Linked DNA regions of Homo sapiens: region 1 is linked to region 2. Evidence: promoter capture Hi-C in human tissues and cell types (Jung and others, 2019). All regions are on one chromosome and are shown on one strand. The core of a region is centred on a gene start or on the middle of the fragment in contact, and the rest is flanking DNA. Distances in the headings are between cores, read along the strand shown.

What was found. The method cuts DNA at HindIII sites, captures the fragments that hold promoters and counts their contacts. A contact is called where the count stands out against the background at its distance.
Region 1: a contact is called between a fragment that was not itself captured here and the fragment with the promoter of COX11 in region 2, in 1 of the 25 tissues and cell types used here (mesenchymal stem cells).

What each region holds. Positions count from the first base shown.
Region 1 is chr17:55,154,109-55,158,787 of GRCh38, forward strand. All of the region lies in intron 17 of STXBP4 (syntaxin binding protein 4), which reads left to right. Among named protein-coding and RNA genes, the nearest start is that of HLF, 110 kb to the right of the region's middle. The HindIII fragment of the contact is 4,308 bases long and covers 32-4,339 here.
Region 2 is chr17:54,967,070-54,972,283 of GRCh38, forward strand. COX11 (cytochrome c oxidase copper chaperone COX11) reads right to left here and starts at 1,585. Exons shown (of 4, transcript NM_004375.5): 1 at 1,212-1,585. The coding sequence starts at 1,577. It overlaps STXBP4 (syntaxin binding protein 4), which reads left to right and starts at 1,696. Exons shown (of 18, transcript NM_178509.6): 1 at 1,696-1,746. RefSeq lists enhancers at 655-1,604, 1,454-1,513, 1,524-1,603, 1,605-2,553, 1,784-1,883 and 1 more. The HindIII fragment of the contact is 12,807 bases long and covers 1-3,515 here.

The DNA.
Region 1 (4,679 bases), core at 936-3,435, 190 kb after region 2:
GGTAGTGATGTTGAGACCCAGGCTCCTCCCATCTCATGTCTCTGCCCTCCCTAATGGCCTCAGAGTCCTCTACATTCGGTTGGCGGATAATGAGTGAGAGTAGAGAAGGCACTCCAGCTTCTTAAAAACCCTGACCCACAAAAGATAAACATCAATTCTGTTACCTTCTATTGACAGGAACTAATCACATGCTCACATAAAGATATGAGGAGAGCTGGGAAATGTAGTCTCTGCCTAGGCAGCTGCCACCTGGCAGCAACTCTATGGTATGGAATGGAGAACATAAATTTTTGGTGGACACTGCCAACAGGTATATGAAAAAGTACAAATATACCAACTATACAATCCTATATAATTGTTTATTAGTATCTGATAATTCAGTGTATAGGTATCAGTGTCAGTAGGACATGTTCTTTGTTTTTTTCTGTTTTGTTTGTCCTATTATGATGAAAAACAGCATCAATTTTTAAGAGTTACCCAGGGCTGTACTCTGTCACTACAGAGTTGTTTCCTTCTTTGAAAAATTAATTATATTGGCTTTGTACCTGACATGTTTTAGCTCTATATAGCAATCCAGCCTGTGGATATTATTTGAAAAAATGTAATTAATATTTTCCATACTTGTTCCTCAGGAATTTTCTTTTCAGTGTTTATCTTTTAGAAGTCTAGTGACAACAATTTTTTTATACATAAGTAATATATTACAATAGCTTTAGATTCTTATAATATGATTTGATAGCTCAGACCTAAATATTTTTAATTAATTGGAATTTAAGATTTTAAAAGATAAATGATTTTTAACAGAAATTACCATAAATATATAATAAAAATAAAATTTGTCCTCTAGACTGTAAAGATTTGGATGAGATCCTGCTAATATTTGATCAGAGCCTCACTGGATTTCCAAATGCCTAATTACAAAATGCTCAAAGTGTTCTGTGATATTTACAAAGTTCACTAATGAGAAATATTTATTTTGATTTTAGCGGCATATTTCCAAAATTATGTAAGAGGATACTCCTTATATACCAGTGGGAACAAAATGCCTGCAATTTTCTCTTAAACATATTTTAGAATAGATACTTCCTATTACTAATCTGTAATTATTCTCATAACCAGTGTTTATATAAGATTATATGCTGCTTTATCATGGTTTGGTTACTTTTTAATAATCTCATTGACAAGGTTCACCTTGTGTTCCTACCTTCTCATTTGTTTTCAATTGGGATTAGTTTTTAAGTATAAATCTTTTATTGTCATTACTACTTGCAGTTTATGCCCAGTTGTAAAATTTTCCAGTGATTCAAAGTTACTGGTGCCTGAAACAAATTATATTAACATATAGTTACTTATTTGTCTTTGTTTTCTGTTTTATATAAATACTATATGCATACAATTATCACCCCCCCCCCAATAAAATGACACTGGAAGTTAATTACTTTTGGCTCTTTATTCCACAGCTTTATCTTAAACATGATAAAATAGTATATGCAAATTCACAATGATGTATAAATAGTGCCATCTATGATGGAAGATTAACAAAAGAATGTCTTTCATCATCACAGACGGTTATAAGAATGAATTTCTACAGAACAAGTGCCCTTTTTGTCATTAAATCCTTTTTGTTTAACAGGTTGTCCTAATTTTTATTTTGAAAGAAAACATTTTGCTCCTTTAGCTAGGAGGTAAGAAACATAAGGAGGGTAATTATAATGGGATTTAAATAATTCACTTACATTTCTATGCCAATAATATAAAGCATGTTCTCTTAGGTTTTTTAATAAGCTCTAAAATGTGTCTTTCAGTTTACTAATATTATTTTTTAAAACACACAATACTGTTATCTTCCCAAATCGAATATTATTGTTTTCCAACAACAGATTTGGCAACCATTCAGAGGCAAATAGTATTATGCTTTTGAGATTTTCAAATATATCTGAAGTGCTGTTGACTGCTCTCCAAATCAGGTCAGATGCACTGTCTCTTTAGGAGAATTTGCCAGAGGTACTGTTTGTTCAAATGGAAAATTTTCATGTTCCATAGTAAGCTTCATTTATTTTCCAAACCTCTAAATTTTTTATACTAAATTTTTTATAGCAACATCTCCCTTTATGAACCATGGGGTCTTTATTAATTAAACAATCAACAGGGCTGATTTATTCTCTTATCAGCTGAATTACCAAGCACACAAATCACAGAGGAAATGTTTTTAATACTAGAATGTTCTCCAAGCCAGTAAATCTGGGATTATCTCATCATACCGATTATGTCAAAGCTCTTTAGCCACAGTGCTCACTAGGACATAAAATTGAATGGTATACACACAAATGGCCCCCTTCCAGCATCATAGGAAGAATTCCAAATTTTTCTTACAATAATCAGAAATCCCTAATTATCAATAAAACTAGCTATGATTATTTATTGAATGTCTCCTCTCTGCCAGGCACTTCACATGCATTACCTGAGTTTCAGAAGCACTGTGTCCCATTGGTTCTGGACGTTTTAAACAAAGACCCAGGTCTGAAATGTGTGCTTGAAGCACAGAACACGTCTCTCTGTTGCTTTAGTTTTATTTCTTCTAGTGAGTAGCTGTTGTAATTGCATATTTGATGCTTAGGTGTGTGCGTGTGTGTTTTTAGGCATATACAAAAAATCATATTGTGAATATAAGATTAATCAAGTTATAAGGTTAATCAAATTTTATATTACTTTTGTATTTGGAGTAAGATCAGATGTGATTTGTTGATTAAAAAGTGCTTAATGAAGGTTACTGGCAAAGATGACCATCTGGTAGAACTTTCTGATATTCACCGTTCAGAGTCTATAACTACGTTTTTTTCTTAGACATTTTCCTTTTGATTATTTTAAATTAGCAATTTAATGGAATGTTCATATATGGACAGTTGTAATATGTCAAGCATGAGAATACTATTTATAAAAAGTCACATAGCAAAGCATACTACCTGAACTTACCCTCAGGTAATTGCTCCTGTTTTTCTTCCTTCCCATCTCCTCCAATTATGGAACTTCAAAGGAGAGGGAGGAATTTAAATGATTTAAATTATGGTTTCTTCTTTGGACTAATATGTGCTGATAAACATTAAAGTATTAAAATATATACCAATATTTTAAAATAAGCAAAGCTGTCTCATCAAGCTTTTCCATTTTAGTTTTAGACATGTACTTTGTACAGGGTGATGTGTCCTCATTTCACCTTGCAGTGGCATTCCAGCCCTCTCATGTTACACTCATTAGTATTTCTTTAAAACCACTTTCAAGTTAGGCAGCTCTCCAGCTTTATAAAGGCCTTGAAATGAAGTTAACCTGTGCCGAATCAAATACTTTAGTAAATTTAGCCTCCATAATAAGAAATTCCATTAAACCATTTTAAAGAGATATTAGTAATGTGGATTATCGTCAAGAGAATAATGATTCTTTGTACACTAAACCACACTCTGAGCTTTTGAAGCTGTGAAGATGCCTGGGCCTTGTCACTTTCACCTTGATTCTTAAAGAACTTGAACCCTTTTTATGCCATAATAAAACCGCTAGTAATCTTCTTCCATGAAAAGATACATTTTTAATATTTAAACAGAGGAGCTGAACAATTTGTGTAGGGGGAACATGAACAAAATGTATACTATAGGATTGAAAACAAACCAAACTAATAATAACAGTGGAACTTACCATTTGTACTACCTAACATTTTCAGTATTGTAATCAGTAGCCAATAAAGTGAATGCATTTTTGTGATAGTTCCCAAATTGTGTTCTATGGAACACTGGCCCTGTGTTTGTTAACGGAGATATGTTACTTTGAGTAATATTACATAGTCTTGGAGACTCATAGAGCACATTAGCATATTAAAATCTCTGGGAAATCTTATAGTAAAGAAACCTATTCAATTATGTCAAACTTATTTGACTGTAGAATTATATTCTTCACATAACATTGATTAATTGATTGATGATTGATTGAGACAGGGTCTTGTTCTGTCACCCAGGCTGGAATGTAGTGGATCATACCTCACTGCAGCCTCAAACTTCTGAGTTCAAGCAGTCCTCCCATATTAGCCTCCCAAGTCAGTAACTGGGATTACAGGCATGAGCCACTGTGCCAGGCTATTCTTCACATAACATTTATTTAAAACTCTCGGGAACATACTTTGGAAAATGTTACTTTATAATGTAGGAGGCACTTTCAGATCCACAATCTTAAGTAATCGTTGTAAGTACTGGCCTTCAGATGCACTTGATCTAAGACATGATGCTGCTTCTGAGGTTGAGTTTGGGGAGGACGAAGGCTAGGGAAACTGATCTAGGGTGGATAAAGGCAGTGGGGTAAACCAGGGCTAGAAAGAGTGTCCAAGGAGAAGAAACAAATCCTTGTCCTAATTCGTGCACTCCAGAGTTGGGAAGATGGTGGTGGATTTAGGAGATTCATCCAGCCAAAGGCTGGGAGTAGGACACTAAGTGTAAGAAATACCATCCACCAGGTTAAGAGCATGATTTCGTGATGTGTCACCATTTCCTAGACATACCCAATATCTTTTGTACTTCCTTTCTCATCTCTGCTTGTGTTATTTCCCTGAAACACTTTTCAGGATGCTGGTCATTTGTTCTGAGATCATGTTAGGCCCCACAAATTCAGAGATAAGAAATATAGTTCCTGCCATTAAG
Region 2 (5,214 bases), core at 335-2,834:
ACACGGAAAGAGTGAACTCCAGCTAAGAATACCAGTCATGGTGTTAAAAAAACAATTCCCAAACTTTCCTGCACGCTGGAATCACCTAAAACATACTTGACAATTACTGATGCCTGGTTCCCACTGTGGCCTTGTGATAAAATGGGTAATGTGTGTGGATTTTTAGAAGCTGTCCAGGTGATTCCCAATGTTGCTGTACAATGAATTTTGGGAGCCACTATCTTAAACACTTACTGAATCACTTGTGGCATGATTTTTAAACCGAAATTCCTGTCCCTACCCTAGACTTCCTAACCAGAATCTCTGGGGTAGGGGATCCCTGGAACGTGTATTTAACGTTAAGCTCCATAGGTGATCCTAATGGCCAGCCAAAGCTGCAAATTATTAGCTAAGAACAAAGGAGAAATCTCTAAAATACGTGAAACTTGTCTTTGCCTGTGGTTCTCAAAACTTGCCCTCAAAATCAACTACAGGACTTAACTAAAATATAGAGTGCTGGTCCCACTCCCCTTCTTCTCCCCGCCCCACCCCCCCACCCCGTGTTTCTGACTCAGTCCTGGAGTCGGGCCCTAGAATTTGCACTTTTAACAGGTTCCCGGGTGATGCTGATGCTGCCGGTCCTGGGCGCCACACTCCCAGAACCGTTGCAATGTACTTAACAGTTTCCAGGTTAAGTACATTACAGTTATATATTAACAGGGGTGGGGCGAGAGAGCCTCAAAGGCCTAATTCATGCCTCTTTGTACGGAGGAACTGCTAATCCCAGTTTAAGCCCAAGAAACACGAGTAGTCCAATTTCCAGAGTTACCCTTGGCACATAAACCACATGTGGTTTGCAGAGTGAATGTATGAATAATACATTTTAAAAGCGTGTGTGCGCAGGAGGGTAAGGCAGACTGCTAGATACCCGGTTAGAGGCTGCGGACCTTTTTTTTTTTTTTTGGCGAGGTGCAGTTCATAGATCAGGGGTTTCACTCTGCAGCATGGTATAAGCACAATCACTAAGAACTGGATGCTACTTGCAGTTTTGTCACCAATTTCTTTGGTGACTTTGGGTGTTAAGTGACTGTTTTGAACCTCTCTCCTCTTAGGTAGATAATATCGGAAACCTCTTCCACCTACGACCCGCAGAGCGAGGGCTTGTCCCGGGATTTGTCTTGCACCCCCACCTCTCGCGTCTGCGCCACCCTGCGGGCGGCGCCGGCCCCTACCTGGCAATAGAGCCGATAAAGGGGTACGGCAGCGTAGGACGCCCCCAGCATGCCCACGGCGACAGCGGCCACGTAAGTGAGGGTCGTCTTGTTCTGCCGCCGCCGCTCCTCCTCCTGCGCGCGTGTGAAAGGGTTCGAGCTCTTAGGCCGCCGCGGCGGCTGCAATGCTGGATGCCGGGCTCGAAGGCTGCAGCGCTTCCATGTCCCAAGCCACCTCAGTCCTCTCTCGGCACCTCCTGTCCCACTCCACTCTGGCCTAAGAAACGGCTCTACCCTCTCTGCAGCCCTGGTTGGAGACCCAGGGTGGATCCAGCGCCAGCCACAGAAAGGAACGCACCTCCATCCAGGACGCCAGAGCCCTCCCATAACCCTCTGAACTAACACCCACCCGCCTCTCAGGGACGAGAGGTCAAATCTCGCGAGGCGTGCTCCGTCTCGCGAGATCTGGGTTGAGCCTGCCGCTGCCTTGGCTACCAGGCTCCTCAGGTGGCAGCGCTTGCAGTCGGGCTACGGAGGCCGGGTTGCCAGATTACGGGTAAGTTTGCGTTTTGCTTTGTGACTGTTACTCCCACTTCGCTTCTCGCCAGAACGTCTCTTAACATTTAGGAAAATGCGTTTCGCCCGTCCGCGTGCAAGCTTGCCATCACTTGGGGTTGCGCCTGTGATCTTTATTTAAACTCCACCAGCCTTTGTCTCGACCCGGCAGCCCCGGCGACGCTCTCCCGCGGTCTTTTCTCCTGGGGTCCCTTGGCCGCTGGCTCCTGTGCTCACTGCCCTGGACTTAGTTCAAGTATCACCTCTCTCAGGAAGCCTTGCTGTGTTAACCGCAGCCCTCATGGGCACCCACGACACCTGCATTTTCTCAGCCCGTGGGCAGTCGGCTTCCCCTGCTCTGATGCCCCTTACAACTTGCCCAGTGGAAAGCACCACAGCTGGAGCAGGAGGGAGGCTGTCACGCTGAAGTTTGTTCTGGAGAGAGTGACCAGGATAGGAGGGCCATTTAAGGAGAGACTGAAAGAAACGAACCCCGTGGGAGGATGTAATAGCTTTCTTCAGTTGTCCCACAGGACGAACTCGAGGGGGGCAGACAGCATAGCGGATTTTACTGTGTTAGAAGGAAGCATCTTTCTAGAAACTATAAAATAGCAGTTAAGAGCTCAGGTTCTGAGGTTAGGGGGTTCTGGATTTTTACCCGGGTCCTCACCATGGCCCTGTGCCCTTAGGTCAGTTACTTGTCCTCTAAGACCTGGTGTCCTTACTTGTAAAATGGAAATCAGAACAGTAAATGAATAATATTCATATAACGTCTTTCATGATGACTGAGGCATAGTAAGAATGTAGTTAAAAGTTAGGCTGTATTTCTACTTGCTACGTGGCCATTTCTAATGGCCAGAGCAGGTATAATTATCCCCACTATGTGGATGAGGAACTTGGAGGCCTGAGAAATTTTAACTAGTCATTCGACATTTTATTTATTTATTGCCCTCTCAACTGTGGGCCTGACACCAATCGACCTGCTGGCACTATAGCACAGAACAAGTCGGGAGATCACTTCAGTGATGGAGTGTCCTTTCTGCTGAGGGACTCAGAAAATAATCAAGTAACAGTTACCGAAATAAGGGAATTTCAGATAACAATCAGTGCAGTGAAGACAATGTAATAACATAGTATGATTGACAGTCATGAGAAGCGGTAGTAAAGTAAGGACGTTTTGAAGAGGTGACATTTGAGTTTAGATCTGAACGATGATAAGGAGCTACCTACTCAATAACAATTCCAGGCCAAGCAAAGGCCCAGGGGAAGGAAAGAGATAGAATGATTGAAGAACAGAAAGAAGGCCACTGTGTTCCCAACATAGCAGAGTGGAAAGTGGTAGGAAATGGGGTCAGAACAGGTAACAAAGGCCTGGTAATACCAGCCTTTTAAGCCATGTCCAAGGGTTTGGATTTTATTCTAAAAGTAATAGGAAGCTATTGGAATGTTTGACACATACAAGTGATGTGATCTGACTCACATTTTTGAAAAGATATTGATTACTTTGTGGAGAATGGATTAAAGGTAGGGGGAGGAATGGAAGTAGAACAATTAGGAAGCAATTGCAGTAGTCCACATGAGTGATGATGGTCACCTTGAGTGAGTAATTGATTAACTTGTGGTCACAGGGCCAGAAAATTGCAGAACCAATAAAATATAAATACCTTCTGACTTCTTTCTATACTCTGGCATACTGTCTCAAAAATTTCAGGTCTCCATGATTCTACAAATTTATTCATATTGTGTGATGACAGTGTTTGAAAATCTTTTTCATCTGCATGCACCTTGGTTCTTGTACCAGATTCTCAGCTCTTCTAGGATGAGATTTCTCAAAGTTTAATTTTCTTACAGCATAGACTGAAATCCTTGATACCAACAGTACATTTCCACTCACCATTCTGTTTCTCCAGGCACCCCTTCTTTGTAGCTCCAGGTAGCAGTATAAATATATGTCAGTATACAGTCTTTGTCTTGGACTCCAGTATTTCATTTTTTGTATAATAATTGCAAAATGAAACTCTTATGTACAGTGATATTGATAGCAATGAAGTGGTGTTGGTCTTTGTAGCTTTCTACTTTAATAAAAGAAAATATGCATTGTATCTGATCTTAGTATGATAATGTGAAATGACAGTTCATGTTTATGAAATACTTCTGAATGACAACTAAATATTTTGGTTTTTTACTTATATTTTGAATGAAATGTGTAGAACATAATTTAGTTCAATGTCCAATTAACAAACATATTAAACAATTTAAAATATTTCTGCAACATAATAGTACTCAAATTTCTTGTATACCCTTCACCAAGATTAGAGAATGATAAAGATTCTTCAGTCTTTATCTGCATACTTACTTGTTTATTTCCTATTACAAGAACACTTTCTCCTTCCAAACCACAGAGCAGGCATCAAAATCAGTAAGTTAATATTTATCCAGTATTACCATATGTAGTCAGCTTGGACTACCAATAGCAAAATACCACAGACTGGTTGCTTAAACAACAGAAATACTTGTTTCTCAAAGTGCTGAAGGCTGGAAAGTCAAAGATCAATGTATCAACTGATTCACTTCCTGGTGAGGGGTCTCCCTGGCTTGTGACATCTACCATCTTGCTGTGGCCTTACATAGATTGGAGTAAATGAGCTCTTATGTCTCTTATAAGGACACCAATCCCATGAGATCAGGTTCCCACCCTTATGACCTCATTCAACCATAATTACTTCCTAATCCAAATACAGCTACATTGAGGGGTTAGGGCTTCAACATATGGATTTTGGGGGATATATATTAAATTCTTTACATCATGTTATTCATGGACTCTACATAAATTACCCCATTTGTCCCAATCATTTCCATTTTAGATCTAGGATTTAATCCAGGATTACTCGTTGATTTTAGTTGTCATGCCTCTTCAGTCTTCTTCAATCTGGAATAGTTGCCAGTCTTTTCTTGTCTTTTTCTTTCCTTTTTTATTTTTATTTTTATTTTTATTTTTGAGAGACAAGATCTTGCTGGGTTGCTCAGGCTGGTTTCAAACTCCTGGCCTTAGGTGGTCTTGGTCTCCCATAGTGCTGGGATTACAGGCATGAGCCACCGCACCCAGCCTTATCTTTCATGACTTTGACATTTTTGAGGAATACAGGCTGGTTACGTGATTAAATGTGCCTCAATATAGGTCTGTCTGATGTTTCCTCATGTTTGTGACCCCTTGACAGGAATATCTTAGAGGAGATGCTGTGCTTCAATCAGTGAGTCCTCTTAGGCATCACATGATCTCAATTTATTCCGTGGTTTCATGATGTTAACTTCTGTTTCTTTAAGATTGGGTCTGCCAGGTTTCTCTGTTACAAGGTGAATTAGCAAATATGTCACATTCATAAATTAATAGGCAATGTGTGTTTTGTGGGGAGAATCTTTGTGTTTTGTAGGGAGAAGCTTTGAGACTGTAAATATTCTGTTTCTCATC